Regions from separate parts of the Homo sapiens genome. Here region 1 is linked to region 2. The links are contacts of gene promoters, found by promoter capture Hi-C in human tissues and cell types (Jung and others, 2019). All regions are on one chromosome and are shown on one strand. Each heading gives the region's core, a stretch centred on a gene start or on the middle of the fragment in contact. The rest is flanking DNA. Distances are from core to core; before and after follow the strand shown.

Region 1 (3,165 bases), core at 288-2,787, 100 kb after region 2:
TTTAGGCCATGCACTGAAATCGTGGTTGTTCTGTTTGGACTTGCCCCAACCACCAGTTTGAACAGCAAAGGCTCCTCTACAAATCTTTCCTTGGTGACTGCAGCCCATGTTGATCTTTCTCTGTTCTTTTTTTGCCTTTAATATCACTTATGAGGGCCAGGTGCTGGGGCTCATGCCTATAATCCTAGCACTTTGAGAGGCCGAGATGGGCAGATTGCCTGAGCTCAGGAGTTTGAGCCCAGGCTGAGCAACATGGTGAAACCCCATCTATACTAAAATAGAAAAAATTAGCTGGGTATAGCAGTGTGTGCCTGTAGTCCCAGCTACTCGGGAGGCTGAGACAGGAGAATTGCTTGAACACGGGAGGTGGAGGTTGCAGTGAGCGAAGATCATGCCAGTGCACTCCAGCCTGGGCAACAGAGCGAGACTCCGTCTCTTAAAAAAAAAAATCACTTAGCATATCACCATATAAATTCATGTCTATTCATTTCACATATGCATAAATCCCTCTCCCCAACTAGGCTGGACCTCTCAACACTTGGTTTCCAATGAAGCATATGAAGCAAGTGAACAACTTGTTGCTAAATAACTGGCTTTTTAAAGCATTCCTTAAATGACTTTTACTAGATGAAGGAATATGAAATTCAAATAATTGCAGAAATACTGTGTTGCTCCAGGAAGGCAGCAAAGTCAAAGAGTGGTCCCCAGACCAGAAGCATGGGTGTCCCATAAGAACTTGTTAGAAATGCACATTCTTGGGCTCTACTCCAGACATACTAACTCAGAAATTCGGGGATTAAGGTCCAGTGATTGGTGTTTTTTCAAGCACTCCAGGTGATTCTGATGCACTCAGGTGAACGACTGGTTTAGCATATCGCTGTCCAAAGTGCATTCTGTGGAACTCAAGTCCTGATGGACGTTATGTACATACACCAAACGATTTTGTTCTCAAATTGTGAATAACACACAGGACATTCCCTGGAAATTAAACAAGCACATTAACACACAAAAGGTACTAATAAACCCCCAAAGTTATTTGAGTTTTACTTTGTTTAACCTGTTGTTTCCTAAGTATCTGAAGACTAAAACCTTTAAATTTTTCTTTTGGATGTATTGCTTATTTACATCCTGTAGAACACACTTCCAGAACTGCTAACCTACTAAAAGGATTAAAGCAAAAACATCAGAAAAATTATTCTTCCAGTAGCCCTAGTGTTACTACTGATTTCTCCTTAGTTCCACTATAAGTCTTACTGTTCTTTAAACAAAAATATGTAAAGCTAACATCTAGTCACAAATGTACTTACCTTTAACTCTGGGCCTACTCCAAGGTTCTTTAAGGCTTCTGCTTGTTGATAAAGAATATACTGGAAACCTTCACACACATACCAATCCCAGCCTTTTTCTAAATGACAAATAGCATGTTTTAGCATATACATTCCTAATTTACTAACTTTAATGCTACTACAGTTACAATTTGTGTTTTACACATTGCGACTTGAATTTTTCTTTTTTTTTCAATTAACCCAGAACTTAGCAGCTTAGCATCTTGAATTTTTTTGTACCATTCAAGAGGGCTTCCATTCTTATATTCTCTTGTTTCCAACCTGGCAATGTGTACACAAATGCTGAAACTAAATATTTTGTATAATTTCCGATTTCAAATGTTTTCCATTATCTGTATTTTTCTGAAATATTAACCTAAGAGGCAGAAAAATGAATAGTCACCATGTTAAAAAAAAGTGAAACGAGTTTTAAAAATGTCTATTTTCCCGAACAATGCCCAGCAGAATCCTAAATGATGAACGATGCCCAGCAGAATCCTAAATGAAAGGACTAAGTCACTGCTTCCACCACTTTTCTGTTCCAACTCACAAGGGAACAGTGAACTGTTAGTGAATGAGTGAACGAATGTCACGATCTCATGATACCGGAGTATAGAAAAGGGCAGTAAGAACATTCAAAGAAAATAAACTGCTCAATGGCATTCTGCTTTTCCTGAAATGGTTCTAGGTTATAGGGAGAAAATGAAAGCAAGGTACTAATACTGATCTCAGCCTAGGTGCCAAGTGTGTGCCAGGTATCTTACGTGGGTTATTTTCTGGAATACTCAAAACTACCCTAAGAGATTGTGAAGAAACCTGCCACCACAATAGACAGAGTTACATGTTTAATGACAACTACGAGCTGAAGGAAAAGTCTGTGAAGACCCTTATGTTTTGCCCCTCACTGCTGGACAAATACTGTAACTCTTCCAAAAGCTTGTTATCAGTACTTTTTACACAGAGCTTCTGAGGTGTGTTACTGACTTCAAGATCTCTTCTCTGCAGAATGCCAGAGGACTTCAACTCTTCTCCCTTACCTGAATGTCACAAAGTCTCCCCACCTCTGCTAACTAACCCAATTCCTTCCCAGAAAGGGTCTCGAATTGTCTCAAAAGCCAATAATTTTGATGGGTCCATAAGTCGAGGAAGTTTAAACTCTTCAAGCTATATGCATATACTCCCTCTTCCTGCATACTGTTCTTAGAAACTGATAAAGTTGTATTTTAAATTTTGAGTCTGTGTTCCTATTTTCCATAATGGATGGCATTTTATTCTCATTTTACAAATGAAGAAATTAAGGGTGATGAGGTTGACTATAAGATACTTAACACCTAATATAAAGCACCTGAAGTTCCTTAAGAAATGCATGTTTAAACTACACATTTTAACTATTTAAGTAGGTCAAGGCAAAATTAATCAGGTTTTACTCCAATAAAATTTAAAAGTTAATCAGGTTTTAGCCTAATAAAAAGTCACTACTAAAGGCTAAGCAGAAACATGAGACAGCACCTAGGCAGTCACTGTTAGCATCTAAGAATGTCGGTGTATTTCACATATTTCATAAACACACACACACACACACACACACACACATATATATATATATTTTTTAATGTGTGTGTATCCTTAAAGCTATCTCATGTAGAAGAGTCCCCATTATCATCAGCCTGGTTTCAAACTTGGGGATTTGGTCCTAGCTACCTAGTCACAAAAATAAAAACCATCAGTTAGACTTTACCTAAGATCCTTCTCAACAATGGTTAATTATATGTACTCACTGGATTAATGAAATACTTTGCCTTTCAAAGCACACTCATGTTGAGGTCATTTTAAGGGAAAA
Region 2 (3,675 bases), core at 1-2,500:
TGAAATATGTTTCAGGCAATAATTTAACTGCATATTCTACAACATAAGAGTAATCCATTTAAGATACTCCATACAAAATATCTATCTCATCCAGAAAAAGAACACACTGACAAAAACCGATCCTTCACAAATAACTAAGAAACTGGGAGGGGTACCTATCTGCCTTAAACTTCCTGATCTGAAATATACTGACTGGCCTGGTGCGATTTCCCTGTTTTTTCTTTAGTAAGTTTTTAAAATTTTTAGGACAATTTTATATTTTCAGAAAAGCTGCAAAGAAAATACAGAAAACTCCCTCGCCCAGTTAATCCCCCATGCCTTATTACACTACCACCTCACATTTGTCGAAATACGCTTTTAAATCACACACTCTAAAAAGCATATTAGCTTGTACAGTACTTTCTCGTTTAACACCCGGATTTCAAAGTTTCATCCTCTTGATTCTCTCGAGCACTAAAAACACGGTAATCTGTAATTACCATCAATGATGCAAGTGGCAAAATAACTCCTACAGCCGTTTTCCCACTCATGCCGCCAGCCAGGGAAAAGAAAACGCCCGGACATCGGGGCACTTCAACCTTTCCCTACATTTCTGTTTTGGAGGTTCCAGCAGGTCGCCGAGTGACGAGCCTGAGACCACAGATTACCTGGAGAAGTCCACCTGTCCCGACGCGGCGCGAGCCCCACCAGGCTCCCGAGGCCGACCGGGCAGGAGAGGGGGGCGGGGAGGCCCGGGGGCGTTGGCTGCGCCCCGACCTCGCGCCGCACCCGACCGCGCCGGGGGCCCGGACCCCAAGGTGCGCGCCCGAGGGGACCCAACCTGGCCGCGGAGGAGGGGAGGAGGGTGGCCCCTCCGGTGTCGAGTTTCCCCGAGGACAGGGTCTCTCCTCCCGAGGCTCCGACCGAACAAAGAGCACGGCAGGGCTAAGGGGCAAAGGCCGTGGCGGCGTGGAGTGGACAGCGGCCCCCGGCTCGCGCCCCGCGCCCGCCCGCCCGCGCGGCCTCGGGTCTGCGCCCGGCTCGCTCGCTGCAGGTGCGGCCCCTCAGCGCGGCCCCCCCGCGGCGGCCGGACTCCTGCGCCTCACTCACTTGTCGTACTCCTGTGTCATCGCGCCCGCTCGCCGCTGCCGGGCCGCAGAACTGGACTTTCGGGTTGGGACAGTACACCCGATCCGGGGGGAGGAGGCGGCGGCGGCGGCTGCGGGTCCGGAGCGGCGGCCCCGACGGGTTGGGTTTGCTTTTCTCGCTCTGAGCCGGCTCCGCGCGGGCTGCGCGCACTGGGCGCCGGGCTCGGCCGCTCATTGGCTGGCGATGCGCCGGCTGGGGGCGAGGCCTCGGGGCTGGGAGGCCGGTCGCGCCTCCTGATTGGTCGGCGAGAAGAGCGCCGGGGCGGGGCTGACGGGGACGAGCGGCGCGGGGCGGGGGGCGGGGGCCGCGCGTTCCGCGAGGTTGCGCCCGGGACTGCGCTCCCGGGGCTGCGCGCCCGACTCGCGGCCGTACGCGCCTGCCCTGACAGGAGAGGGAGCGCTGCGGCTGCGGCGCGCACCCGCCAACCTCCGCGCGCACCGAGAGCGCCCCCGCTCGCGCCCCGCCACCGCCCCCGCCGCCCCCGCCGTCCCCGCCGTCCCCGGCCATCCCCTTCGCGACGAGCCCCGGCCGTACAGCCGCCTCCTTCTTCGCTCACTCAGGCCTCCGCGCCCCGTGCCCACATTGCCCGCTGTTCCGGCCCCAGCGCCCCGCGCTGCCCCTGCGCTCGCCCGGCGGGGGCGCCTCTGCCGGTCGCCGCGCTCCCCGGTCGCGCGTCTCACCTCTCGGTTCTCGCAGGCTGTCACGCCCGAGTCCCGTGGCTTCCCCCGAGAGCCGTCTCCGGAATGTCCCTTCTCCTGGCCCACCGCGGCCGCGCGCTTTTAGGATTTCTTGCCCTCGCAGCTCCCGCGGTCCCCTCGGCGGCAGTCCCTGGGGCTCCGCGATGTCTGTGCCCCGCAGCCTCCCGGGCGCCACTTCCCCGCGCGGCCGCCCCACGCTGCCCGTGCAGTCGCGCGCCCCGGGCCGGCCCCGGGCACCACTCCACCGCGACGGCCCCCACTTGTCCTTCCCGAGCTGCCGTCTTTCCCAGGGTCCGCTCACTGAGTCCCCACATGCCCAGCGTCGGACCTGACCCTCGGACAGGCGCGGCCCCAGACGCCGGGGACAGGGCAGTCAACAGAACAGACACAACTCCTCGCCTTCCTAGTTGGGGTAACGGGCAATACAAAAACAAGTAAATGGTGTGGCTGGTTGGAAGGTAAAGCAGGCAGGCCCTGGGGAGGCGGGGAGGAGCGAGGCTTTCAGGCTTGAAGGAGATGAGGGGCCACGAAGGTGGGACTGTACCTGAGGCAGGGACCCTGGTGTGTTTTGTGACCCTTGAGGAGACCCGGGTGGCTGGTGGGGCACAGGGAGGCGGGAGCTGCGGTCAGAGATAGTGGGCGCAGGGGAGCGGATTGAGCAGGGCCTTGCCGGCTTCCGTAAGGACTGTGGCTTTCCCTCTGGGCTAGGTGGGGACGCCTTGGAGGGGCTTGGAGCAGGGTAGTGACAGGGTCTCACATTTTAAAATAGTTCTCTGCTGCTGCGTGGTGGGGACCAGGTAGGAGGCCATTGCCATGATGCAGGCCGAGGGCAATAGAGTGAGGTGGTGGGAAGTGGCCGAATTCTGGATATGCTTTGAAGGTGGGACCAGCAGGATTGTCTGAAAATTGGATATGGGGTGTGAGAGAAAGAGAGAATCAAGGATGACTACAGCGTTTCCAGCTGGGCAACTGGAGGAATGATTTGCCATCCCCTGGGATACAGAAGACCTGGGGCATAGAAGATTTGGGGGAGAACGAGAGTCTGTTTTGGACGTGCTAAGCTCAAGATGTATGGGAGATAAAAATCCATGAATCAGGTGGGCTCCTGGGTACGAGGCTGGAGTGCAAGGGAGAAGTCTGGGCTGAAGCTCACATCTGGGCGCCGCCCACGTCTAGAGGCCATTTAAAGCCATGAGAAGGCAGGAAGGAAAGAGGATGGGACCCATGCTGGATCCAGGAGCCTCCGACACAGAAAGGCTGGGAGGAAGAGCCAGTGGAGGAGACAGAAGACGGGGACACCGAGGTCGGAAGCAATGGAAGCGTGGAAGCCAAGGGAAGGAGGTGAAGTGAGGAGCAGCATGAGGTCACAGGGCCCTCCTGCAGCCAGCAGTCCCTCCTCTGTGCCCTGGTCCAAGGCCTTCAGGGACCGGAATCGGCAGCCTCACTTGAGACCGCCCTTCGCAGTTTCTGTCCTCTGACCCCGGGCCCAGCACTGGATCCATGCAGCCTGTTGTTTGTTCTTACCACTAGTTTCCTGTTTAAATCATTTATTATTTTTTTCTTTTCCTTTTTTTTTTTTTTTTTTTTTTTGAGGCGGAATCTCCCTCTGTTGCCCAGGCTGGAGTGCAGTGCCGTGATCTCAGCTTACTGCAACCTCTGCCTCCTGGGTTCAAGCGACTCTCCTGCCTCAGCCTCCCAAGTAGCTAGGATCACAGGCGCCCACCACCACGCTCGGCTAATTTTTCTATTTTTAGTAGAGATGGGGTTTCACTAAGTTGACCAGGCAGGTCTCAAACTCCTGACCTCAGGCAATCTGCCCGCCTCGGCCTCTCAAAGTGCTGGGATTACA

The links. Contacts are between HindIII fragments. The study calls those that stand out against the background at their distance.
Region 1: a fragment that was not itself captured here is called in contact with the fragment with the promoter of GRHL1 in region 2 in 2 of the 25 tissues and cell types used here (IMR-90 fibroblasts and bladder).

Annotation. Positions count from the first base shown.
Region 1 is chr2:9,849,781-9,852,945 of GRCh38, reverse strand. TAF1B (TATA-box binding protein associated factor, RNA polymerase I subunit B) reads right to left here. Exons shown (of 15, transcript NM_005680.3): 4 at 1,308-1,405. Among named protein-coding and RNA genes, the nearest start is that of TAF1B, 7.9 kb to the right of the region's middle. The HindIII fragment of the contact is 6,134 bases long and covers 1-3,165 here.
Region 2 is chr2:9,949,268-9,952,942 of GRCh38, reverse strand. It overlaps GRHL1 (grainyhead like transcription factor 1), which reads right to left and starts at 1,250. Exons shown (of 16, transcript NM_198182.3): 1 at 1,090-1,250. The coding sequence starts at 1,109. It overlaps LOC105373422 (a long non-coding RNA gene), which reads left to right and starts at 2,090. Exons shown (of 3, transcript XR_922784.4): 1 at 2,090-2,238. RefSeq lists silencers at 960-1,499, 1,590-1,639, 1,740-1,789, 1,940-2,019. The HindIII fragment of the contact is 17,390 bases long and covers 1-3,675 here.